Linked DNA regions of Homo sapiens: region 1 is linked to region 2. The links are contacts of gene promoters, found by promoter capture Hi-C in blood cells and fetal thymus (Javierre and others, 2016). All regions are on one chromosome and are shown on one strand. The core of a region is centred on a gene start or on the middle of the fragment in contact, and the rest is flanking DNA. Distances in the headings are between cores, read along the strand shown.

Evidence for each region. The method cuts DNA at HindIII sites, captures the fragments that hold promoters and counts their contacts. A CHiCAGO score of 5 or more calls a contact.
Region 1: a contact is called between a fragment that was not itself captured here and the fragment with the promoter of HIPK3 in region 2, in 1 of 17 cell types (monocytes). The highest score is 6.3, in monocytes.

Annotation. Positions count from the first base shown.
Region 1 is chr11:34,429,615-34,436,333 of GRCh38, reverse strand. It overlaps LOC105376622 (a long non-coding RNA gene), which reads right to left and starts at 4,045. Exons shown (of 3, transcript XR_931180.3): 1 at 3,887-4,045; 2 at 3,217-3,322; 3 at 12-88. It also overlaps the pseudogene CIR1P3. The HindIII fragment of the contact is 3,089 bases long and covers 1-2,934 here.
Region 2 is chr11:33,251,597-33,259,040 of GRCh38, reverse strand. HIPK3 (homeodomain interacting protein kinase 3) reads right to left here and starts at 1,660. Exons shown (of 17, transcript NM_005734.5): 1 at 1,152-1,660. RefSeq lists enhancers at 186-275, 316-365 and silencers at 706-905, 976-1,315, 1,576-1,905. The HindIII fragment of the contact is 4,438 bases long and covers 1-2,434 here.

The DNA.
Region 1 (6,719 bases), core at 141-2,640, 1.2 Mb before region 2:
AGGGGTAATTACTCTGTTCTGATTCCACCCATCCTCAGAGAGGCCGAGAATGTTCTACATATTTCAGTTTCATTCTCTTCACAGTGGCCTTGTGAGGTAAATTCAGAGTTAGGCAAAAAGGAAGAGAAAAGAACACAACAAGAAACAAAGAGAGTTACAATTCAGTATTGGCTGTTGGCTTTAAGAGAAGAGAATAAACATCACCACAGCTCCATGACTCCTGTTCACTGTGGAACAGGCTTGAGCAAGCCAAAGAAGAAGGTGGGATTTGCTTTAAAAAGTAGCAGTGGTGTTATATGCAGTAGCAGCACATACCTTCTGCTCTGCCTATTTGGCTGCACCATATCTTTCCCGCTTTAATATGAATAATTGCCTACTTGGGAGGAGGCAACCCAGATGTCCTCTGGTGTCTGGTGATGGCCATAGCATGAGCTATGCTAAGGAGAAGAACATGGATGTGCCTTTTCCCGCCTCGGCCTTACGTGCCACGCTACTGATCTGGTGTTTGCAAAAAAAGGAAACATAGGCCAGGCCTGGTGGCTCATGCCTGTAATCCCAGCACTTTGGGAGGCCAAGACAGGTGGATCTCTTGAGGTCAGGAGTTCAAGACCAGCCTGGTCAACATGGCAAAACCCTGTCTCTGCTAAAAATACAAAAATTAGCTGGGCGTGGTGGCTCTTGCCTGTAGTCCCAGCTGCACGTGAGGCTGAGGCAGGAGAATCGCTTGAACCCAGGTGGCAGAGGTTGCAGTGAGCCGGGGTCATGCCACTGCACTCCAGCCCGGGTGACAGAGCAAGACTCCGTCTCAAAAACAAAACAAAACAAAAAACAGAAGAAACATAGAAATAATAATTGGGAATTTGTTTTTACCTTCACTTTTTTTTCTTTTTTTTTTGAGACGAAGTCTCGCTCTGTCACCCAGGCTGGAGTGCAGCGGCAAGATCTCGGCTCACTGCAAGCTCTGCCTCTTGGGTTCATGCCATTCTCCTGCCTCAGCCTCCCGAGTAGCTGGGACTACAGGCGCCCGCCACCACACCCAGCTAATTTTTTTGTGTTTTTAGTAGAGACGGGGTTTCACCGTGTTAGCCAGGATGGTCTCGATCTCCTGACCTCGTGATCCACCCACCTCGGCCTCCCAAAGTGCTGGGATTACAGACGTGAGCCACCTCGCCCGGCCCTTAACTTATTTTTTATACTTACTAATGGAGGCTTGGAAAATGCAGGATAAAATATCAAACAATCATTCAAAGATTACGATAAACAGGTAACATTTTTACCAATATTTTCTCTCTTATATGTTTGTAAAGGAGTGTGTGTGTGTGTGTGAGAGAGAGTTTTACAATGGATCCTATAGAATACATAATCTTATATCCTGCTTTTTCCACCTAACATTATCAGATAAAACTTTTTCCAAGTCATTAAATCTTTTTCCAAAATGTGATATTTTTCTCCTATGCCTACACAATTTGCAATCAAAGGACTATTCCTTTATTTACATACTCCTTTACTGAGAACATTTAAATTGTTTTCTTCTATAACAGTACAGTGACATCCTTCCTCTACATTTGTATTTATTTCCTTAGGACCTGTTTTCAGAGGTCATTTTTGGTTCAAGTCATTTGAACTTTTTAAGGTTCTTGTGACATGTTGTTGATTGTTTTCTGCAATGCTCGAGCTAGTTTATACTGTCACAGGCACTGAGAGTGTGGATTGGAAGTGCAATTTTCAAGACAGGTGAATATCTGGATTCTGGATGTTCATCAATTGCATATTTCATCACATTCTTCTGAGAGAGAAGGCCTCTCATGTTATGTTCAGCCATAACCACTAACCCATGGGAGTCATCCAATATACTGGATGTCTGCTGTGTCCTGGGCCCCCTGCCTATTGGGCTCTGGGAGTACAACAGCAAAGGACGTGGACATAGACAAATAATCAGACAATAACACGGGGAAAAAGTGCTGAGAGAAGGGAAGGCCAGCTGTTATTAGGATTACCTAAGAAGGTCGCCTAACCTGAACCTGCTAAGTCATGGAGGCTTTGAGTAAAGCTGAGAAACTGAATAGGTGTCAGGCGTGGTGTCAGGAGTAAGCATTATATGATCCACCCTGCTACCGCAGAAATCCAGATTGTTAACCACTTTTCCCTAAAAGTCTGACTTCATTCATGGTGATATGGAGATGGCTTGAGTAGGACTCAGTAGCAAGCAAATATTTACAACAGGTGTTGAGCCTTTTTCAAGTTTGTGCAGGTCCACTGGCCTCTGAACTTGACTTTGACTAGCTTAAGCTCCTGCGGCTCACCCACATTCCCTCCTTGCCTCTGGGCTCCTGCAAGGCCTGGGTCAACCAGTCATGTTTAACTACTGGGATTCACATGCTTGGATTGAAGTTATTTTTCCAGTGCTGCTCTCTCAGAGGTATTTTGCTTGCCTCCCTTGTTTATGCTTTAAATGTTGCACCTGGGCTTGACCTTGGGTTTAAGTCTGTTTGCAGAAACCAGACATGGGTTCTTGTACTCTGACAATAAAAATAAAAAGTCAAACCTCATAGACAATCAACACATTCATTATGGACTGAGAGCACACACAATTATGCATCTGTGGAGAAATGAATAGTTATGAAGTATACATGTTTGGGTGGAACCATTGGTCATAGCTAGGAATGGTCAACTAGGGGGAACGGAACAGGTAGCTCTCTTCTCCCTTTCTTTACCATAAACCCAGATCATTACCTAGTAGGGCTCAAGAGAAAAAATAGCATGGTACATGGTTAACAGCCCCAGCGCTAGCATCAGAGCACTTGGGGTCAAATCCCACCATGGCCATTTACAAACTGTGTGAACTTGGGCAAGTCACTTAATTTTTCTAAGCTACCATGTTGCTTTTGTAAAATGGAGATAGTAACACCTTCTATATTAGGTATCACCCAAGCTTCTATAACAAAAAGAGCCTCCCAAAAAACCAACAAAATAGCATAGACAAGATCAAAGCTTATTTCTCTCACAATAAAGCATTTCAGACCTAAATGGTACAGGGCTGGTTAGGCAACTCTGCCATCCTCAATACATAGCTTCCATCTCTGAGTCCAATGTAGCTGCTCACTTGATCATAACTGCATGCCAGCCAGTGGGAAGGGGGACAAAGGAGCAAAGGGAGCCCATGTCCTTTCCTTTTTAGGGCACAATTTGGAAATAGCACACTTTATTTCTACTCACATTCCATTGGCCAGAATTTCGTCACATGGCTATGCCTAGCTATACAGGAAACCGGGAAATGTAGTCACTGGCTGGGTGGCCATGGGCTTGACAAAACTCAGGCATTCTATTATAAAAGAAAAGGGAAGTGAATATCGGTGGCTGATCAGCAGCACCGGCCACACTGACCTCCAAGGGTAGTTGGAGGTTTAGGGAAGATTATATGAACCATATGAGTTAGTTATCTGTATTATCTGATTATTAGTATTTCTATTTATTCTGGAGTGCCATGTAGCTCTTGTATGAGTTGCAACGCTGTTCAGAAAATACAGCAAACTTTGTTGTAGGATATACTATTATACTCATCCTTGCGGGATGTGCTGTAGTTCAGAGACTGCCTCTGGACACTGAAGTTTGGCTCCAAGGTCACATTATGATGAACAAAGGCCAACCACTGCCCTAAACCAAACCTTCCTATCCCACAAAACCATCCTTTCAAAACATATTTTGTTTAATTGACAAACACTTAATATTGCTCTTACTATGTCTAGGCTCTACACTGAGGGATTTTCCAATATTAACCCATCTAATCCTTATAACAATCCTATAAGAGGGAATGGACTCTTACTACCTTCACTTTACATCTGAGGGCACTAAGGTACAGAAAGGTTAAGTAACCTCCCGAAGTTACCCAGATAGTTTGCAATGGGGCCAGGATTCGAACGAGACAGTGTGGCTCTGGAGATCACATCTCCACTCCTACGTTGTTCTGCCTGTGACAAAGTGGGCAGGAATAAAGGAAGATCTTGAGTGAGTGTTCTACATTCTTAGAATTTAACTCCAGCATTGCACTACCCTCTGCCCACCTGAAGACGCGGTGTTACGGGAAGCACCCTGAGTAAAGCAATTGTGAAATCCATGTTTTGTACCCACATAGTTGAGAAGAACCACAAGAAAATGACATTCTTCTCAGTCTTTAAAAGACAAAAAATGGGAAGTTGTTATGGATTTGTAATATAAGAGCATGACAGGCCTAGAGAGCCACATGGGATTGAGGAACAGCCAAAGGCAGGAATGAGAGTGCTGGAGAAGAGGCAGCTTGCAGAGCAGCAAGGATGAAGGAGGAGGAGGAAGATCTCTAGCTGCCTCTCCTTCCTGACAGCAAAGGGCAGGCAGAGACTTAGCTAAACAAGTTCATTCAAAGAATCATTTTCCACCAAGCAAGAGGACCTGTTGCCCTGTATCATCTTATATGCAGCTCCTGTTCCAGGATACGTGGACATAAACAGATTCAGTTCTGAGACACTGTGACATGAAGCAAAATTCTCCTTCTTGTGTCAGATGTGGAAAGCAATTGCTCCAGGCAACCTGAAAATGAAGATCTATTTACTTCTTTTTTTTTAACTGAGAAAATAAAGAGAAACGTTATTTTATTTCCTTGTTTGTCCTCTATATAAATTCTGAAACAAATAAATCATGTCTAGTGCCTACCTGCCTCATCAGTGGGAACTGAACTTGCATTGATTCCAGAAAGACCAAACAAAGGACAGTCTCAATCTGCAGTGACATGATCCCATTTGTGACATTTAATGCAGTTCATATTTCTAACCTGAATATCAAAGGGCTAATTTTTTTTGTTTATGTGATCTTTGGCATATTTTTCTCATGGAGCTTCTTTCTGCCATTTAAATTTGTCTTCATTCTCTCCTGTTTTCTTTTTTCTCTGTTTCCTTTTTTAGCTCCTGGTGGGGCCTCACAAATGAAATTAAGGCCATTCTTTACACATTCATCTCCCATAAGCAATCTATTTTCATATGATTATTGTTCTTTAAGATACTGCTGCCTTCATTCTTCTTGTTTCTTCTTATCATATATTTTCTGTTCTGCCATTCATACTTTTTTTTTTTTTGAGATAAAAGTCTCACTCTCTCGCCCAAGCTGGAGTGCAGTGGCGCCATCTCCGCTCACTGCAACCTCCGTTCTCGGGTTCAAGTGATTCTCCTGTCTAGCCTCCTCAGTAGCTGGGACCACAGACACACGGCTAATTTTTGTATTTTTATAAGAGAGGAGGTTTCGTCATGTTGGCCAGGCTGGTCTCGAACTCCTGGCCTCAAGTGATCCGCCGGCCTCAGCCTCCCAAACTGCTGGGATTACAGGCATGAGCCACCACACCCGGCCCATTCATACTTTTTTGATACTGGATTTGGAGGCAAGATGAACATCCTTCTTGCACATGACATTGTCAGAGGATTTCCCCATCCTTGAGCCAGAGCTGGGGAAAGCAGTGGCTAGCTCTGTAAGCAACATAAACGAACTACTTAGCAAGCACTAGCTTAATTCTCTGAAACTTTGTACTGGGATTTTTCCCAATCCCATCCCACCCAATATTCTAAATGTCAATGAATAACAATCACCGTTGCCTTTCTCTTGTCTGGCTGGCCCCTGAGGTGTGAAACAACTTACTCGATGGGCAAATTATAGATGATACAATATTAGGATTTGTATCATCTTTCTCTTAATGCCCTTTTAAACTCTGCATCCTCAAAAGAAGCCAGAAGCCACGTGGCTCAGCTTGGGGGCCTGTAGTTTACCATGTTGTCTTCTCAGGAAGACCTTTCTTGACCACTTCTTTTAATCTTATAGCTTCCTCTGGCACTTCCTGTCATGCCTTCCCTGCTTTGTGTTTTCTCTGTGATCCTTCTCCCTTTTAACATACTATATAACCGATTTCATTTGTTTATTGGGTATTTCTCCTACTAGAATAGAAGTCCATGAGGATTGGTGGGTTTTGTTTCTGGTTTTGAATTTTCTGCTTATTCTTAGCACCTGCAACAGTTTTCTGGCACCCAGGATATTTGACTAAATGAATGAACAAGCAAGTGAATTAATAGATGAGGTAATACCGGGATAAACCATGTTACAAATAACCAGAGTAAGTGACAATTTGCCTTGAGGGATTTGAGGGAGAATTTGATCAGATGCCTGGCTCAAATACAGATACCCTCCCATTTCATTTTTAAATATATTTTCCTTTAGGACTTGAGTACTTTCCCATATTCTCAAAAAGAGTCCTCTTTTAAAAAATAGATATATTGCCGGGTGCAGTGGCTCATGCCTGTAATCCCAGCACTTTGGGAGGCTGAGGTGGGCAGATCACCTGAGGTCAGGAGTTCGAGACCAGCCTGATCAACATGGAGAAACCTCATCTCTACTAAAAGTACGAAATTAGCCAGGCATGGTGACATGCACCTGTAATCCCTGCTACTCGGGAGGCTGAGGCAGGAGAATCTCTTGAACCAGGGAGGTGGAGGTTTCAGTGAGCCAAGATCATGCCATTGCACTCCAGCCTGGGCAACAAGAGTGAAACTCTGTCTCAAAAAAAAAAAAATAGATATATTACCCCCATTATGAACCTTCTGACATGGTACACCAGGAAGGACTCAACATCGCTTCTGTGGCATTCCTATCAAAAATGCATACTCTGAATCTAATCATGAGGAAACATGAGACAAACTCCAACTGAG
Region 2 (7,444 bases), core at 411-2,910:
ACACGCAGACTGGTTTGCCAGCTAACTTTTCCGGCCCTGTACCAGACAGACATCAAAACAAAGTTTACAATAGAGCCAACCATGCGCTTTCCCTCTAAACTGGACGATAAACTGAAATTTTTTGCTGTTGCTAATAGAAGCCCCTTATTATAATTAGAAGCAGCCAACTGACAGGTGGAAAAACAAATTCCCTAACAGGGCAGTAAGAGGTTGTGAAAACACGGTTCAAGGCCTGAACGTGTTACGACTACTCTGTAACAAGTCCAAGGTAATTTACGCACACACTCTTCAGCGCAATTCCTCAAGCAGAGATGAGACGGGAACAACAGGATTCCCCGAGAGCCACATACCATTTTACAACAGCCGTCTCCCTCCCGACAGAGAAACAGACATTTTCATCCAAAGTCTTTCCGCCAGTTCTCCCAGTGCGGCGAAGGGAAGCGGGCGGCAGCCACCGTAACGAGAGAAGCCGGCAACAGCCCCGCCGCGCGGCCGCCACGCCTTCCTCCCGCCGCCGCTGGGGACGCGGAGCCGCGGATCACATTTCTCCTCCCCAACAATCACACACACGCACGCACGTCCCCAGAGTTGACACCCTGCAAACCCGCTGCTCCGCGACGCTGGGGACGGGGCCACAAAGCCCGGGACGCGGCCATCGGCTGGGGTGCTCAAGCTGCGTGCCTGCGCGTTTGTTTGTTCCCCTTAATGAAAGGAAAGGGATCTCCGTAGTTACGGCCTAGGACTGCGGAGGGGGAAGAGAGGCTCCCCGTGGGACTAAACAAAACTTCGGTTGCTGGGAAGAGCCGTTGCGCAACCTTGGCAGGGGGAGGGGGGGCCGAGGCCCCCGGGCCCCGGCCAGGCGCGGCTTCCCGGAGGCTACGGCCCCCGCGTCCGGCGGCCCAGGGCCTGGCGTGGCGCCGGCTTCGAGGGAGCGGCTCATACCGGGCCACACTGCAGGGGCTAGGGCGGAAACTGGGAGCACGAGAGCGCTGGGGATGCGGATGGGGCACGGGACGCGCAATGAGTGCGGGCTGCGCCGGAGGTGTCGGGCCAGGCCCGGGTCAGGCTTGGGGTCCGCTGGCCGCGGAGCCCGCAGACGGAGCCGATCCCCCCACCCCGGGGTGGCGGCGCCCCTCGCTCGACTCCCTTACCTTCCTAGAGGCCCGCGCTCTCTCCTCTTCGGGCGGCCGCAGCCCTGAGCATGTCCGGGGTGGGGCGCAGGGCCGTGCCGGGGACCGGGAGCCAGGCGCTTCAGCAGGCGGCACCACCCAGCCCGGGCTCAGCCCCTCTCCGCGGCCGCTGCCATCTTGTCCTGGCGGCTGAGAGGAAACGGCGAAACACCCTCCCCCGACCGCTGCTGCTGCTGCTGCTGCTCTGGCTGCTAAGCGCCGGGCCCGTCTCCCTCATCTTCCTTCCCGGGGATTTGGGGTGGGGACGGCTTGGCTAGGGCGAGGGGTAGTGGGAGGCCGGTCGGCCTCCGGCTACTGGGGCCTACGGGCGACGCAGGGTGCGGGGCCCACGGCGATTGGGGCCCATTCCTGACGCCCCGGCCGGGAGCGGAGAAGGAAGACTGGCGGGAGTGGTGGCGACGGCGGGGCCTGCGGCTTGATCTCCTCAGGTCGCCGCGATGCCGGCAGTCGTCACTGAGGCAGCTGCCACCAGCCGCCCCAGCCTCGGGCCCCTCCTCCGCGCTCGTCGGCCTCGGCCACCGCCTCCGCAGCGCCACCGCCCGCCCGGCAGCGCTGCGCGCCCAGCCCGGGCGGCTCCGCTCCGCTCCGGCCGCGGCGCCTCCGTGAAGCCCCTCCCCGGGGTCCGCCCGCCAGTCCGCAGCCGCGCCCTTGTTGCCCGGAGCCCGCCTGCCAGCCCGTGCGGCCCCAACCCGGAGTCCCGCAAGCCAAGCCTCCCGCGAAAGAAGCATCCGTCAGCCCGGCTCTGCTGTTCTGAACCTCACTCCATGCCCCCTCCGCCAGAAATACACATTTTTAAAAAAGATCCCAATACCCGAAGAAAGGATGAAGATGCGGAAGCAGGATTTTACAGGCCTTTCGAGATCCCGGAACCGTAATTAAGGATCTGTTTCTCGGCATTTGGTCGTTAAAGGTCCCAAAATAAGTAAAGGGGAAATGCTCAAATGAACGACCTCAATCTAAACTAGGTTCTACCCGCTCCCCTATCCCAAAGAGTGAAGAGAATTGTAAAGCCAGGTTCAAGGACGGGGGAAGGGTCCTCTTGGAAATTTTAAGAGCATCTCTACTGTCCAAAACCCCATAATTGTGAAGTTCGCCCACCTCCACATTGGTAATTCTCCGTTAAATTAGTCGGTTTAACTCCCAAAGACTAGTTTCTTTCCTCCTGGAGATTAGGAAATCAACAGAATGGCCTGTTTCAGCTTACATAATCGTGGAACCATAGAATTTTAGGAATGAAAGAAGCTTTGCGATCCTTGGTCCCAACTCTTACACTCAGGAGTTCCAAGAAGTTTAGGTGACATGACCAAGGTTATACAGTAAAGCCCATGTCTCCCACCCCATCTTTCCTCCTTTTCCCTAGGAAACAAATGGCTTTCTAATACCTCACATTCAGAGTTGATTTTCTTTTATACCCGTTTCCTCAGGTTCCCTTTGTTCTGAATCAATGTCTAACCTTTTGGGAAACAAACACCTTTCTGGAATGGAAGTGTCCTTTCTTTGTTTCCTTCATAATCTTCACTAGCAAGATTGAATTTACCAGAGATGTATTTATTCCCAGAAATTTTCTATTGCAGTAACTGGGGCAGGGCAAAGGGAGTGGCAAATTGCTGCATACATAATACACATTTAATCCCTGCTGCTCTTCAAACCGGAAGATGAGTATTTTGGATAATGCCTTTAAGAGACAAAGGAGGCCGGGCGCGGTGGCTCGCACATGTAATCCCAGCACTTTGGGAGGCTGAGGCGGGTGGATCACCTGTGGTCAGGAGTTCAAGACCAGCCTGGCCAACATAGTGAAACCTGGTCTCTACTAAAAATGCAAAAATTAGCTGGGCGTGGTGGCGGGCGCCTGTAATCCCAGCTACTCGAGAGCTGAGGTAAGAGAATCGCTTGAATCGCTTGAGCCACTGCACTCCAACCTGGGCGACAGGGAGAGACTCTGTCTCAAAAAATAAAATAAAAGAGAAAGGATAGTATGCCCTGAGGCCACTGGAAATAACACTTTCGAATGACAGTTGTTTTCAGGTTAGAGAGGATAACCAGCTGAAAAGGCTTCCAATATAGAAGAACAAAACAATGGCTGCCTTTCAGAGAGATAGCCTATGAACCATTCCTTTTCACTTAGTATTTCGTTACTTTTTATTTTTCTTAAGAACAATAGTCAAAAGAATCAAAGAGGATAAAATCATTTACTCAACGGAGAAAGCTACAATAGTAGAAAAATCTGTCAGGAGGAACAGAGAAACTATTCCACTAGAACTTCAAATTTCAGAATTTTTGCAGACATTTAAGGAGGCCATCTCTAATGGAAGGCTTCCATTCCCTGTATTTGCTACATCCATGAAGAGATGGAAATGAGAGACAAGGATTTATTTTCCTTTCTATCTCCTGCATGTTGCTACTCACTACACTATATATTCCAGGAGGGGATTCATTCATCTTTTTTTTTTTTTAGATGAAGTCTCGCTCTATTGCCAGGGTTCAAGCAATTCTCCTGCTTCAGCCTCCCGAATAGCTGAGACTACAGGCATGCCCCACCATACCCAGCTAATTTTTGTACTTTTAGCAGAGACGGGGTTTTACCATGTTGGCCAGGATGGTCTCGATCCCTTGACCTCGTGCTCTGTCCACCTCAGCCTCCCAAAGTGTTGGGATTACAGGCATGAGCCACCACGCCCGGCCTCATCTTTTTTTTTAACCATTATATTGCAAGTGCCTAATACAGTGCCTGACTTGTGGTAAGACCTTAGTAAATGTTGCAAAATAAGTAAATGATATATTCCAGCCCCCCTTCACTTTATACCTATTGTCTCCTAACCTAATTTCTTTACCTCTAATCTCTTCCCCTTCAAATCTTTCTTTTTTTGAGGCACGATATCAGCTCCTCTGCCTCCCAGGTTCAGGCGATTCTCCTGCCTCAGCCTCCCAAGTAGCTGGGACTGCAACTTCCGCCTCCCAGGTTCAGGCGATTCTCCTGCCTCAGCCTCCCAAGTAGCTGGGACTACAGGCCCGTGCCACCACGCCCAGCTAATTTTTTGTATTTGTAGTAGAGATGGGGTTTCACCATGTTAGCCAGGATGGTCTTGATCTCCTGACCTGACAGAGTCTAATTTTGTCACCCAGGCTGGAGCACAGTGGTGTGATCTCCATTCACCACAGCCTCAACTCCCTGGGCTCAAGGGATCCATCCACCTCAGCCTCCCACCTAACTGGGATTACAGACACGCACCACCACAGCCAGCTATTTTTTTTTTATTTTTAGTATGGAGATGCGGTTTCATTATGTTGGCCAGACTGGTCTGGAACTCCTGGCCTCAAGTGATCCGCCCACCTCAGCCTCCCAAAAGTGCTGGGATTTCAGGTGTGAGCCACTGCGCCTGGCTTTCAAATCTATTCTGAACACAAACATCTAGATAATCTCCCAAAGCCCCTAATGTAGCTATTTTACAAAGTTTGAGGGTTGTTTTTTTTTTTTAAGGAAAATTTCTCATAGTGCTAAGATCTCTCAAAAATGCAGGCTGGGGGAGGGCATGGTAGCTCACATCTGTAATCCCAGCACTTTGGGAAGCTGAGGTTGGGGGATTGCTTGAGCCCATGAGTTCCAGGCTGCAGTGAGCTGTGATTTCGCCACTGCACTCCAGGCTAAGTGACAGAGCAAGATCTTGCCTCTAAAAAATAAAACAGGAAGATACTAAAGAAAACCTTAATGTTTTCATTCAAAAAAATTACTTAAGGGCCAGACTTGGTGGCTCACACCTGTAATTCTATCACTGAGCAAGACCTAGCCTCTTCAAAAACCCCTCTCTCTCTACAAAAAATACAAAAACTAGCCTGGCCTGGTGGTGCACGCCTGTAGTCCCAGCTACTCGGGAGGCTGAGATGGGCCCTGAGGCTGCAGTGAGTTGTGATCACACCACTGCACTCCAGCCTGGGCGACAGAGTAAGACCCTGTCTCTGAGTAAGTAAGTAAGTAAATAAACAAATAAAATCCTTCACAGAACTAGCCCACAAGGAACTCAATCAACTTTTTGTCTCCTTACTCCAGCCACTCTCTGGAGCTCCGTAGGTGCCTGGATCACCTTCTGCCTGAAACATTCCTCAAGTATAGCCATCCACCTTTCTTTCCTGTCCTTACTCAAATATTGCCTTCATGGTGAAGCCTCCTCTTCAGCGATGACCACCTATATTTACATTCCCTGTCTTTATCTTTCTCTTTAGGGCTTGCCATCATCTTAGATACTATGATATATATTTTCTGTTCCCTTGTCCCTCAAGGTAAGCTTTCACAGGGCAAGAATTTTTGTCTGTTTTCTTGATGCTTTGATCCCCAGAGCCTAGAACAGGGCCTTGCATGTAAAGGGAACTCAAATATTTGTAAAGTGAAAAAATAAATTTTCTATGGAATCAGTAAGAAACCCTCCATAAACTCAGACTGCGAGCAGTCACAATTGTTTGAGATCACCTAGCCATGAAATCCAAGCCCTCTCTCTCAGCTATTCCTCCCACCTCTACCTCCAAAAATTACTCTGCCCAGGCCAGGCGTGGTGGCTCATGCCTGTAATCGCAGCACTTTGTAAGGCCAAAGCGAGTGGACCACCTGAGGTCAGGAGTTCGAGATCAACCTAGCCAACATGGTGAAACCCCGTCTCTACTAAAAATACAAAAATTAGCTGGATGTGGTGGCACACACCTGTAATCCCAGCTACTCGGGAGGCCGAGGCATGAGAATAGCTTGAATCTGGGAGGCAGAGGTTGCAGTGAGCCGAGATCACACCACTGCACTCCAGCCTGGGTGACAGAATGAGACTCTGCCTAAAAAAATAAATAAATAAAAATAACATTACTCTTCCCAAAGGAGGCCAGTCCTCCTCGCACTCACCTTGTGTTCTTCGCTGCCATTGCTCCTCGTTAAACCACATATAGGTGTTCCTGTGAAGAGATGGCCCTCCGCAGTCTCCACAAATGATGCCGACGCTTCTGTCCAAAGCCATGCAGTTTCAAGAAAAAGCTGGGAACTTTTTCAGAGCCTGAGTCACCAATCCACACTCCCCTTCCTCAGGGAAGTTGGTTGTTGTTTTGTTTTTGTTTTTTTCTCTAGTCCTTGGGTATCCTTTCTTACCATTACACCTTGGGAGAATAGGAGGTACCCTGTCAACCAAAAATAGCCCCCTAGTTACTAATATCAAGGAGGAGAGGTTCACCAAGGGGACTTCTGTCTCCTCCCTCCCAGGAGGTCCTGGCTTTTTTTTTTTTTTTTTTTGAGGTGGAGTTTCGCTCTTGTTGCCCAGGCTGGAGTGCAATAGCTCGATCTCAGCTCACCGAAACCTCTGCCTCCCGGGTTCAAGCGAAACCTCTGCCTCCCGGGTTCAAGCGGTTCTCCTGCCTCAGCCTCCCGAGTAGCTGGGATTACAGGCGTGCACCAACACGCCCGGCTAATTTATGCGTTTTTAGGAGAGACAGGGTTTCACCGTGTTGATCAGACTGGTCTCCAACTCCTGACCTCAGGTGATCCGCCCACCCCAGCCTCCCAAAGTGCTGGGATTACAGGTGTGAGCCACCACGCCCGGCAGTCCTGGCTTTCTTATATAAATAATCTGTCTTCTTCCTGGAGATCAGCTTTGTATACCCGAGCCTCAGGAAGGGGCAACTGGAATGGAAAAAAAAAAAAAAAATCCATTCAGGAGTGTGCCACTCCTACCACTCTGCATAACCAAAAAGCCCAGTCAAGTAACTCTTTGCAGCCCAAAGATTTGTTTCTCCTTCTGAAAAAAAAAGAAGAAAGAAACTGTTTCCACTAAATTTTACAGATAAAACACTCATATTTTTAGAAGTTCACAATCTCATCTTTATCTGGGAGTTAGGTACTACAGTCAGCGCAAGGCAAAAATCTCACATAGTAAAATTAATCCTTGAAAATTACCTCAATTACCCATAAAGCATAATATACATTGTTTTGTATATACAACCTGAACATGTCTATATTAATGATATGTTACTTATATGTCTATATTAATGATATGTTACTTATAGTTAGTCATAAATTAAATTTTCACGTTTCACCTCTTGGAGCACTTCAGAAATTTTATGAAGATTATAATAACTGGTTAGCTTTTTCAGTTTCTTTCTGTTCTTTCTGTTTTTTTTTTTTTTTTTTTTTTTTTTTTTTTTTTTTTTTTTTTTTTTTTGTCAGGGTCTTGCTCCATCGCCCAGGCTAGAGGGCAGTGGCACAATCACAGCTGGCTGCAGCCTCGACT